3 separate regions of the Homo sapiens genome follow, and regions 2 and 3 are each linked to region 1. Evidence: promoter capture Hi-C in 16 types of primary human blood cells and fetal thymus (Javierre and others, 2016). All regions are on one chromosome and are shown on one strand. The core of a region is centred on a gene start or on the middle of the fragment in contact, and the rest is flanking DNA. Distances in the headings are between cores, read along the strand shown. Region 1 holds the start of CFAP20DC (CFAP20 domain containing). Region 2 overlaps LOC105377109 (a long non-coding RNA gene). Region 3 overlaps FAM3D-AS1 (FAM3D antisense RNA 1).

The links. Contacts are between HindIII fragments. The CHiCAGO score rates a contact against its expected background, and 5 or more counts as called.
Region 2: a fragment that was not itself captured here is called in contact with the fragment with the promoter of CFAP20DC in region 1 in 1 of 17 cell types (endothelial precursors); the score reaches 5.3 in endothelial precursors.
Region 3: a contact is called between a fragment that was not itself captured here and the fragment with the promoter of CFAP20DC in region 1, in 4 of 17 cell types (monocytes, M0 macrophages, M1 macrophages and 1 more). The highest score is 6.3, in monocytes.

Annotation. Positions count from the first base shown.
Region 1 is chr3:59,047,459-59,051,495 of GRCh38, forward strand. It overlaps CFAP20DC (CFAP20 domain containing), which reads right to left and starts at 2,567. Exons shown (of 17, transcript NM_001394063.1): 1 at 2,153-2,567. The coding sequence starts at 2,173. The HindIII fragment of the contact is 2,679 bases long and covers 1,545-4,037 here.
Region 2 is chr3:58,667,817-58,672,131 of GRCh38, forward strand. LOC105377109 (a long non-coding RNA gene) reads left to right here. Exons shown (of 3, transcript XR_940879.3): 2 at 1-92. Among named protein-coding and RNA genes, the nearest start is that of FAM3D, 3.2 kb to the left of the region's middle. The HindIII fragment of the contact is 2,693 bases long and covers 499-3,191 here.
Region 3 is chr3:58,622,688-58,626,568 of GRCh38, forward strand. The region is part of intron 2 of FAM3D-AS1 (FAM3D antisense RNA 1); the gene reads left to right. It also overlaps a transcript of FAM107A not described here. Among named protein-coding and RNA genes, the nearest start is that of FAM3D-AS1, 18 kb to the left of the region's middle. The HindIII fragment of the contact is 2,597 bases long and covers 1,268-3,864 here.

The sequences.
Region 1 (4,037 bases), core at 1,317-3,816:
AGAATCTGTTTTTAAAGCATGACAAACATTAAATCAATTGTGCCATACAAACCCTACAGTATCTCAGTGGGGGACTCGTTTACTTGACACATACAGATCATTCTTGCAAAACATTTTATGTTTTACAGACTGTGTTTTGCAACCACACTAAAGGGTTTAAACGCAATTCTTGAATCAGGCCAATACATTCAGGTAGTTATCTCCAAATACAAGCTTTCTAGTCATACTGACTGAGGCTCCAACACTGGCTTTTTAACTATCTGAACTTGGAGTTACTTAACTTCTTGATTCTCCATCTGTAAAATGGGTTGTTGGATTACATAAGATACTAAACATTAAACCTTGAGCATAATACTCAGCTCACAGCAGGGGCTCAACAGCACCATCAAAGTTTATTCAAAAAATGGGAAGGGAAATTAAACAGTTTAGTACTGGTCAATAAAAAGGCCTGGGAGGGATTTGGAAATTCCTATTTTGAGCATTCCTACAAGATATTTTTACGTATGTAATACAAATTAATGTGAAGATCTATAAAATCTGTATAAGAGAAATAAAATATTGTGTCTACAGACAGCCTACTGGTTCCCCATTGTAAACATGAGAACATGGAAGGACACACTTATGTAAGCACACTGAAGATATTACTGAATGTCCATAAGCTTTAATTATTTAAGAAAGGGGAATTAAATAAGATAATTATCTCTAAGGAAGAATTTATTGCAAAAAATGAGAATCCTATATGAGGATTAAATACGGTTTGAATTATAAACAATATGTGAGCAAATCTAATTTCTGTAAGGAATTTCCAGCTTTTAATTTTTCTCAGTAATATAAAGATATTTTTGCCTCTCAGTTATAACACACGATCACTTGGAGGTAAGACATTTAATGTCTTCTTCCTTAGGCAGTATTACGTGCAAACTGTATATGGGATAGAATTACTATAGCTTGTGAGGGCAGGTAATATTTCACTATGAATTTAAATTTGAGACAGCTAGTTGTTTTAAAAGACAAAAGCCCTCATACTCGGTGAGACGGCAAACTCTCCCTGCTGCTTTTTGCTTTCCCATGTCCTCCAAGTTTCCTGTAGTGGGCACATGTTTTTTTGATAATATATTTTACCTATAAGAAGTGAGACAAACTCTCTAAAAGTGTTCTAGCCCAATTAGTGATAACGAATGGGACAGAAGAAAGAGAACTGCAGACTACTCCGAGAGCACTCATAATGAGGCAAGTAGTGTTAGGTGAATGAAAAGGCAGAAGCAATAAAGAGGTGGAGACGGGTAGAGAACTGATTAGATACAGTAACAAACGTTCATCAGAACAGCAGGACTAGCATGGTAAACAGACTGTAAACAAGGAGTGTAACCTCTTGCAAAGGCGAGGAGAGGAGACCAGGAAGGGAGGTGTCCAGTGAGGTGAGGAAAGCAGGTCGAGACACTCTAGGATACTCAAAGTGACTGAGGACGACCCAGAAGCAGTGTTTCTCCAAGTGTGATCCTTGGACCCCCTGCATAGGAATCACTTGGGGGAACTAGTTAAAAAGCTTAATCAAGTGACCCCCATCCAGAGATTCGGATTCACCAGATCTGGGATGCGGGTCAGGAAATCTGCACGTTTACAAGCACCCCAAGAAAGCCTGATGTACTCCAACGTCTGAGATTCACTGACTCCCAGTTCTGTAAAAATAAAACAGCACATAGCCAAAGTGCTTATTTTCTTTCTTGATGTAACAATGCATGCATTCACTCATTCACTCTTCTAAATCGCTTCTGAGATACCAGTGTTGCATGAATACTGAGTCTCCAAAGCGCTTTGTTAAAACTCAAGATTTCTGGGCCCTGCCCTCAAGATTCTGATTCAGGAGGTTTCAGTGGGGCTTAAGATCTCCATTTTAGGTAGAATCACAGACAATTAATTCATCTTAAGAAACACTGAGTTGGAGAGTGAACAAAAGCCAAATCATACGCCTAGACATTGGTAAATTTTTCCTTCTCTCTGGGTCAACAGCATTCACCCATTAATTCTGTCTTACCCCTGAAAAAGACCTTATTATGGGGATAGAGGGTGCACTTTATCCTCACCCCGATCACGGACTACCTCACCCAAGAGGAGAAAGGTATAGACAGGTTGGAGAACCGTTTCGGGTTACCTGGTACTCATTTTTGAACATTCCCGCAGGGGGCCCAGGGCTTGGGGGGCACAGAGTTCAGGGTTTCCAGCGAGTGGCGTGACCCTGACGGCTGGAAATCGGCTGGCGGGAACCCAGGAGCCCGACGGGTGGGAAAGGGCTTCGTGCTTGGCCCAGACTTGGGCAGGCTCTTCTCAGCCCCTCCGGCCCCTGGTCAGCTCCATCTCCCGCCCTCCATCAGCACCATTGCGGCTCCAGCCTCCGCGGTGCCCGGGTCTGGGGAGGGCGCAGCTGCCTGGACGGACTCCGGGCCGTCCCTGGGGAGTGATTGTGTGTGTAACCTACGTGACGGGGCGCCCAGTCGCGGAGCCACAGACAACCGCCCGCTGGCCTAGGAAAAGCGGGCGCGCTCCCGCTGCCGCCCCACCCCAGAATCAAACCGCGAAAGAGCAGCGCCGAGCGCCACCCGCGTTCCGGCCGCGCCCATTGGTTCCCACTGGGCGCCTGCGCGTTGCGCTCTCTAGGCTTCTCGCCGACGGGCACGGGAGGATACGCGGTGACGTAGCGTTGCCCAGGCAACCGCGGGACTCCTGGAGAAATGGTGGGCGGTCCAAACGGTGAGCAGCACGCTCCTTACTTAGGTCATGACCTCTGCCGACTAAAAAGGCTAAACTCAGCGTGGATTAGGGCTATACCAGGTACTGGACTCTTCTAGAGTACTGTCACATCGGTTTGGTCTCTCCTCGTGGTAAACAGATAACTGGTAGGTTCCTGAGGGATACAGTCATGGACTCATGGAACCCTCACGCGGCCTTTGCTTAGAAGGTTCCCAAATTTGGGTTCGTTGAGGCAGTAAGAGGGTCTGCTGGACCCTTTCATTGTTTCAGAAGACCCTAGGAAGCCAAGATTTTTTTGTAGAAAATAATAACTTATTGAGACTAGCACTGGCTTAAGTGTAACTATTAAGTTACTTTATTTAGTTTCTAGATCAGAGCCACTTCTTACATGGAAGGTACTATTGCCAATTTTTGGCTAAGGAACTGTGGCTCAGAAAGGTTAAATGGCTTGGCCAAAGTCATATGGCACTGAGAGGTGACAGCATGCTGGCAGTCCTCAGAGCCCTCGCTTGCTCTCGGCACCTCCCCTGCCTGGGCTCCCACTTTGGCGGCATTTGAGGAGCCCTTCAGCCCCCCACTGCACTGTGGGAGCCCCTTTCTGGGTTGGCCAAGGCTGGAGCCCACTCCCTCAGCTTGCAGGGAGGTGTGGAGGGAGAGGCGCGAGCGGGAACCCGGGCTACGTGCCGCGCTTGCAGGCCAGCTGGAGTTCCGGGTGGGCGTGGACTTGGCAGGCCCCGCACTCGGAGCAGCCGGCCAGCCCTGCTGGCCCCGGGCAATGAGGGACTTAGCACCCGGGCCAGTGGCTGCAGAGGGTCTACTGGGTCCCCCAGCGTGCTGGCCCACCGGCACTGTGCTCGATTTCTCGCCAGGCCTTAGCTGCCTTCCCGCGGGGCAGGGCTCAGAACCTGCAGCCCGCCATGCCTGAGCCTCCCACCCACTCCGTGTGTTCCTGTGCAGCCCGAGCCTCCCCGATGAGCGCCGCCCCCTGCTCCACGGCGCCCAGTCCCATCGACCACCCAACGGCTGAGTAGTGTGAGCGCACGGTGCGGGACTGGCAGGCAGCTCCACCTGCGGCCCCAGTGCGGGATCCACTAGGTGAAGCCAGCTGGGCTCCTGAGTCTGGTGGGGAGGTGGAGAGTCTTTACGTCTAGCTCAGGGATTGTAAATAACCAATCAGCACCCTGTGTTTAGCTCAAGGTTTGTGAGTACACCAATTGACACTCTGTGTCTAGCTGCTCTGGTGGGGCCTTGGAGAACCTGTGTGTCCAAACTCTGTATCCAGCTAATCT
Region 2 (4,315 bases), core at 595-3,094, 380 kb before region 1:
GAGCTGGTGCAAGGGAAGAGCAGGGAGCGGACCCTGTGTGATGAGGTGCCGGGAGTGGCCCCAGTTCTGCTGTTCCAGCTGCCCATCCCCAGGTAGGCACGTGGGCCCCCTCAGGATGTATCCCAGGGCGAGGCAGTGCTTTCCTTCACTCTGACTGGCTTTAGGACTGGTCCTGTCCTCTGTCCCATCTCCTTGCCTCTTGCTCTCCCTTATTCTGCTAGGACGGTTCTGCCCATAACTGGTGCCTGGGTCTTGTTCAGACCTGACCTGCAGTGTCACTTCCTCAGGGGGGCCCTCCTGACCCTCACTTCCAATATAAATAAGCACACAAGTGTAGGGGAGTAAAAATGGCTTTCTCTACCCTTCTAGCTGCCTTGGCTGGTCAGGAATTAAACTGACAGCAGGGAGAATAACAGGAGAAAAGGTACAGACATTTATCACATGCATGGGGGCATCCCAGGAAAGAAAAGGAATTCCCCACACCCAGTAAGATTTAGAAGCTTGTATACCCTCTTCACAAGGGAGAGAGGGGTGGGGTGTCAGCACCGTAGTGGAGAGTAAATGATTTCTGGGGAAGAGGAGTGGGCCCTCAGCAGGACAGGTGACGACAGCCTGTGACAAAGGCTATCTGGACGTAGTGTGGACCTTTAGACTCCTGTGAAACGAGCCAGTCCTTCCGGCTGATGAGATTCCCTGGGCGGAGATTCATGGCCACTGCGTTTGCTCTGGACAATCTGTCTTTAGACAGAAAAGGAAAACTCGGAAAGCCCCTCCCTGCAGTTGCTGTTCCCCAAGTGACCTCAGTTCAAAGTCTCAAAGTGGCATATTTTGGGGAGTTACTTCGGAACTCCTTCACAAGCAAATCATTTAAAATTGAGACATTCTGTGAAAGAACCCATGAAAGTGATTCCAGGAGAACTTTCCTCAGCAGGTGGTCAGGGAAGGCCTCTCTGAGGAGGGGTGCTTTGAGGAGCTGCAGTAACAAACAAACACAGACCAGCAGCTTCATAACACAGCTGTGAAGCTAACCACTCTGGAGGGCAGGAGCTTGATATGGGTCTCACTGGGTTGGAATCACGGTGCTGGCAGGCTTGCATTCCTTTCTGGAGACTCCAGAAGAAACATTTTTTGTCTTTTCTAGTGCCTAGAAGCCACCTGCATTTCTTGGCTCATGGCCCCTTCCTCCATCTTCAAAGCCAGCAATGTTGGGTCTCCATGACAATTCTTCCTTCCTTACATCTCCCTCTAACTCTTTTATGCTTTCATCTTCCACTTTTAAGGACCCGGTGACAACACTGGGCCCACTTGGATAATCCAGGTTACTCTCCCTATCCTAAGGTCAGCTGATCGGCAACTCTAATTCCATTTGAGACCTTAATTCCCCTTTGCTCAGTTATGTTATATATTCGCATGCTCTGGGGATCAGGATGCAGACCTAATCCCATTAGGGGGCCAAGAGTCTGCTAATCACAGGTGCAATTTTGTTTCCTTTTCGTTATCGAACTTAACAGCCTGAAATGATATTTCCTGACTATTGTTTACTTGTCACCTGTCTCACTCTTCTGGAAAGCGAATCCCAAGAGGGCAGGGATCTTGCAGGTGCTGCTCATTCACCCCTGTAATCCCAGCACTTTGGGAGGCTGAGGCGGGCGGATCATGAGGTCAGGAGATTGAGACCATCCTGGCTAATACAGTGAAACCCCATCTCTACTAAAAATACAAAAAATTAGCCGGGCTTGGTGGTGGGCACCTGTAGTCCCAGCTACTCGGGAGGCTGAGGCAGGAGAATGGCATGAACCCTGCAGGTGGAACTTGCAGTGAGCTGAGATTGCGCCACTGCACTCCAGCCTGGGCGACAGAGCGAGACTCCGTCTCAAACAACAACAACAACAACAACAACAACAACAACAACAACAACAACAACAACAACAAAAACAGTGCCTGGAACTCAGCAGGTGCTCAACAAAGACTTACTGAATCAATGGACAGGTGATTGAGCTTGAGCTCATTTCTGCATCAGAGTCAACACAGACAGTACTGGTCTGAGTGCCGGGAGCTGTGACCCCCACCGCACCCTGTGAAGTTGTGTGACCTGGAGCCTTCCTTTCCCCTCTCTGAGTCTCAGGCATTCTCACCCCAGCCCTAGGAGGAAGGGAAGGCACAGGGCAGCCACCCTGACGTCTTCAGATCTTGAAGGAGTTAATTGCTGTCATGAAGTCATCGCTTATTTCCTCCCAATAGCAAAAGCCCTGCTGAGGCAGCAGTAGCCTGAGCAGGTATCCGAGGATCACTCTCCCCAGAGTACACTCAGGGAGCAATCAGTGGGGTCTGGCATTGGTGCTGGTTCCTGGGCATGCCACCCCCTGCCCCACCACCCCCTGCTCTACTCACCAGCCCATGGCAGGTGGAGAACATGGGCCCTGGGTGAGACAGGCCTGCTTGTATGTCCTAACTCTGTTTGTGACCAGTGGGGTCACCTTGATGAGTAATTTCCCCTTCCCAAGCCTTCATTTTCTCTTCTATTAAGTAGGATAATCCGTTTATTACAGGGTGGTCAAGAGAATAAAGTAAGAGAGTACATTGGAAGGGCCTGGCCCATAGTAGATGCTCAGTAAATGCTGCCTGTTATCATCATTACTTCTTACTGGTGTAATATCACCTGTGAATCAGAATTTCCTGGTGAAAGAGACCAGAATGCCTTCTCTTCTGTCTCAGAGGGCAACACTGACAGAGTGGGTATCAGTGTCAAGTCTAGATACACGGCTTGGCAGGAGGTCTTGAAAGTACAATAATTGGTAATTCATCCTTTCCCTGGGGTGTTGGTGCCAAAGGCAGCCGTGGTGGCAGGGAGGAGGTGGGAAGCACCAACAGCCCTTTCATTGCCAATGAACTTGGACTCTGCCTCTGCTGCCAGCCAAGCTGTATATATACTTAGGGAAGTTATTGTAACACAAAAGTGTTGCAGGGAACTGACAACTCTCTGGCCCAGTGGTGCGGGGGTAAAATAGTTTACCAAGACAGTTGTAGGTAAAGAAAGGCAGGTTTATTGGAGAAAGTAGAAAAATACATTGCAAGGAGGGCAGCCTGCATGACAGAAGCCGACTGCAAAGAAACAAAGGCCGGCTGGAGATTTTATAGGACGGTGCAGATGCTGTGTGCTGAAGAGGGCTGTGCGCAGCACCACGACACCAAGCTTGCAGTGAGCTCACCTGCAGATGTCTGGTGACAGCTGGGCGCAGGAAGATGGTGACTTATTTGTGCAGGAGGGCTGTGTCCTGGACCATGAAGAAAGGCAGACTTGTAGCTCATCTGCTTTCTCCTTTTGCTTTCCCCTGGTCCCAACAGCCTGACTCCCTTTCCCTAATTAGGACTCCACAGAAAGCTTATTTCTCTTATTTAGTTATAAAAATAATACAGTCCCATCATGAAAACTTTGGAAGAAAACAAAAGTGTAAAGGAAACAAATCAGGCAAGTACAGTCTCCCTTGGGGCTGGCTGTTAGTGCCTTGGGCTATTTCCTTTCCCCGGTTGTGTTGTGTGGCTCTTCCCAAACATCCAGCTCGGTATCCTCCTCTCTTCACTTGTTGTTACAGTTGGGGCATCTCCCTGGGTCGTTAAAAACTTGTAAATGTGATTTCTTAATGACTGCAGATGATCACATGTCGCAAAGCACCATCTTCACCTCCCCTCCTCAACTCCTGGGCGCTTAGTTTCTGGGTGTGTGTGTATTAAAAGTACACCACAATGAATCTTTACAGGCATATCTTGTGACTTTGTGCACCTGTTTCCTTCTTTCTAAAAATGGCCCCTAAATCTATAAAAATTTTAAAATGGGACCAATAATTCCAGTCTTCCCACTCCACAAGGTTTTATGAGGCTTAAAGGAGGAAACAGATATCAAGGTGCTTTGAAAACCATGGAGAAAAGAGCCACCCAAATGCAAGGCCAGATTTTGAGCACTACCTGTTTAAGATAGGAGTGTGTGTGTGTGTGTGTGTGTGTGTGTGTGTGTGTGTGTGTGTTCCTCAACAGTTGGGAGATAGATGAGGGTGGAACTAGGAATAACAGCCACCACAGCATTCAACATTTATAGAGCACCTGCTGGGCACTCTATTAAACAAGACACATTCATGATCTGAATTCGTTCTAACTACCACATCGAGGGGGAGTACTATTATTACCTAGAACCTACAAATGGGGAAACTGAGGCCCAGAGCAGTTAAGCAATTTGCTCGTGGAGACCCAGCTTTCAAGTGGGAAGTTGAGGAGGGACACACATACACCCTTTCCCTGACAGCTGCAGGCATCAGCGATG
Region 3 (3,881 bases), core at 1,316-3,815, 420 kb before region 1:
GCAGGCAAATGGAGTGAGAAAAGGTGGAGAGGCTGGAATGATCCCAGAGACCAGGGCCCAGTGGGGAGGCTGCTGGGCAGGAGGGGGGCTCTGCCTTTGTTGGGGGGGATATTTTTTCCTCACCCCCATGAGCTCCTGACACATTTCTCCTCTTGTCCTTGAGCCTCCCACTCTGGGCACAGGAGTCCTTTGGGAACCCAGCTGTGGAGTCCCAATGGCACCCAGAAGTGAGGTGCAAGGCCCCTTTCTCCTCAGAGAAGCCGTCTGAGGCGGTGGGCAGAGTCAGGGTGATGGGATGGCATGCTGTGAGCGCCTCCTGATGAGGTCCTCACACGTCACTGAGCTGGGCGCAATGAGCTGGAATCCTCTGCTGGGCTTGGCGGCCCTGAGCACCAGGCAGGCCCATCCATCATCGGCAGGGAAAATTGTTCAGGGAGCCAGCAGGGCCCAGCCAGATGTGTACCTTCTGGGCTCTGATAGAATGAACACACCCTTTCAGGCCATTCATCAAATTTAGCCATAGTGCTTCTATTTTTTTCCCCTTTTGTTTCAGTCAAGGCAACTTTCTCTTAATGAAGGTGAATGCAAAGCGATGAGTGTCTTGGTAAACAACAGGGTCAGAGGACAGGACTCTTTCAGGGCCACAAAAAACCTGGGTGGTGTTGGGTTTGGAGAAATGTTTTACAGAACGAAAGCCAAGTGTCCAAACCTCCAGGGGGCTATGCTGCCGCCTCCTGCCCTGCAGAAGCTCCACCTGCAGCCTCTAGAGCAGCAGCAACAGGACCACGTGCCATTCCCTGAGCACCCACTGAGTGCTGGGCACCTCGCCCCAGCCTGCTGTGGAAGGTAAATCATCATGCTGCTTGACAGCTGAGGAAACTGAGGCTCAGAGGGGTTAAATGAGATGCCCCGACAGGGGCTCCAGGTGGGATGTGAGCACTGTTGTGTTTCCACCTTCAGAAGCGCCGGCAGTGGGGTTTGCTGTTTGAGAGGCCAGGCTCTTAGGGCAGCCTGGGTCAAATGTTAACTCCACCCTTACTAGCTGGGTGACCCTGAGCCTCTTGCTTAACCTCTCCACGTCTCTGGATTTCTGGGTGATAAAACTCTCCATGTCCAAGAGCTGTTTGAAGACTAAATGAGCGAATTGGTGCAGAAGCGGCAGTGCATGCGAGCTGTGCTCAGGAACATTTTCCATTTAGCAGCCCCTTTAAGGGTGGCATTACGGTCACAGCCTGGGGAGCTGGACTTGTGCAGGGCAGCCTCTGGAAGCTTGTGGTTGTGTCCTCTATCCTGGGCGAGGGCACTGGCCACTGCTGATTGGGGTGGAGGACGGCGTGCCCACACTCTGTTGGTGTCTATGAACTGGCTGGTGTCTGAGGCCCATGGAAGGTGCTTTTCTTGAACCCACTGCTGCCGCAGGACCTGTGGCCTTGCTGTGTAATGCAAGGGCTTAAAACGTGGCTCCCATCCAGACATCTGGGTTGAACTCACCTCTCTGGCATCAATGCATGCCCAGTGGGTCAAATGTTGAAGTTTCTGGAATGTTCCAAACAGTGTTAGAGGGATTGCTTCTGTGTGTTAAAATATCTTCTTGCAAAAACCCTGATAGAGGCCAGGGTACCCACCTTGGTGCCCTTGATAGGGGCAGATTTAAAAAAATGCCAAGTCCAAGGGAAGTTCAGGCCCTGCCTAAGAAGAACAGAAACAACAATGTCTGTGTTTTGACTCCTGGCCCAGTGGTCTATCTGTCACACCCTCGACCCTTTCAGTGTTCTTCCATTCTCTCTGCCCACCCCACAGCTGGAGAGAACGCTGTCTCTCCTCCTGGGGGGCCATTACAATGAAATGTCCAGCACTCTCCCTTCCATTGAGTAACAGCCATGCCATTGGGAGACAGATCTGTGGCTCCAAGGGTGGGCTCTGGTTGGCCTTAACCAACCACGTGATCCCTTCCATCCCCTGCCAGTGTGGGTTTAGGATTCTAGGCAAAGCCTATGCCCCTGACATTCCCCAGGGGACAAAGGTGAGTTCACCTAAAAGCAAAGTCCAGACCTTGCCTAAGAGGAATAGAAGCAACAACGCTGTGTTTTGACTCCTGGCCCAGGGGTCATGTGCCCAGTCACCTCTGCTTCAACTTTCACACATACTACCAACTATTTTTTGCCTGCCTATTAGTCTCTGCAACTGACAGGGACGGCCTCAAGGGCAGGGGCTGTGTCTCCTCACCCTTGGCTCCAGCTCCACATAGGCCCTGGCATAGGGCAGCAGGTGCCTGCCTGATCAACAGCCTTCTGTGGGAGGTTGGGGTGGGGCTGAGGAAGATGCTGTGGACAGAGCTATGGACCAGGAAGGGTGGGATGGGCTGGGTTGTTTGGAGTCAAGCAGAATGGGGTCAAAATCCTACCCAATAAAAATGAGAAATAAAAATAAAACTTTAAACAAACCCCACCCCTCCACTCTGGCAAGTGACTGAACGGACCCCCTCTTGGCCAAGGAGACCCCAGAGAAATCTTGAAAACCGGGTTTCTGGCCATGACGGGATGGGAGGTCGCACGTGCCCCGTAGTGTGCCATCCCTTGATAACCTCCGTTATCCTAATTCCCTAAGAGCTAAACAGAAACAGGCCTTTTCAAAAGACTCCATGCTGATTTCAACCAACTGCCCCTCCCTTTTGTGGTTTTAACACAAAAACCAACCAGCATTCTTTCTTGATAAGAGATCACCAATCATGGAGCGGTTCTAGCCAGTCTGCAGAGGATGCACAGTGAGGGTTTTCGTGCTCCCTGCTTCACCTTTGACATCAGAGGGCTGAAAACTCCACCCTCAGATCACACTAAGGCCAACATTTTTTTGTACCTGGGGCCTGTAAGAGGCATGAAGCTCAACTGTGCATGTAGATGTTTCTCCTTTCATAAATATTCATGACCCCTCCCACAGCTTATTGAATATGTATATTTGGCCATGCTGCTCAGCATAAATTTCTACTCCCTTTGCCTCTTCCTCAAAGTGTCAGTTTCTGGATTCTGGCCAGAGGCCATGCTTCCCAGCCTCTCGGAATGGCCACCCTGCAGGCTGCAACCCTTTATGAGAAATAAAGCTCCTCTTTCCAAATTAACAACAATAGCAGTACCCTGCTCTTTCCCCCACTAGCTGCATGACCCTGGCTAAGAAATTACTTCTTCCTTGAGTTTCTCAACCTTGATGGAACAGGTCATCACTGGTTGTCTGAGGATCAGAGTCCCATGTTTATCGGGGAGCCTCTGGGCTTGGGGTAGCACACTGAGCACTTCACAGGCATCATCTTGTTGAACTTCCCACGAAGCAGGTACCAGCCCCCCTTTATAAACAAGAACCTGAGGTCCAGAGGGGTTCAGGTCATCGCCACGGTAGGTGGGTGGTGGATCTGGGACACGGCAGCCTGTCTATGCCACTGGGATGGCAGTACCGGGTCGTTGTGGTTGGAGAGCAGTGAGCACGTAGGACAATCCCGAGAGCTGGTGAGTAAATGCAGGCCCCTCTTTGCCCCTAAGAGGCTGATCCAGGAGGTCTGATGGGCCATGAGAAAGTGACTGTTTCACAAGCTCCCTCCTACTCCCCACCCCAGGATGCTGACGCAGGGGTCCGCAGAGCACATTTCCAGAAACAGTTCTCAGGCAATGCTGTCTACAAACCCCCAGCTGAGAGCTCAGGCTTAGAAGGTGAGGGATAATAACATGAATAGAATTCTAATAATAATGGAGCAAAGCCTCTACACAGTGCCAGGCAGTGTTCCAAACACTTTCACTCATTTAATTTTCACAATGATTTTCCAAGGTAGTGATTATTATTGGCCCTATTTTACAGGTGAGGAAATAAGGTACAGAAAGCTTAAATAACTTGCC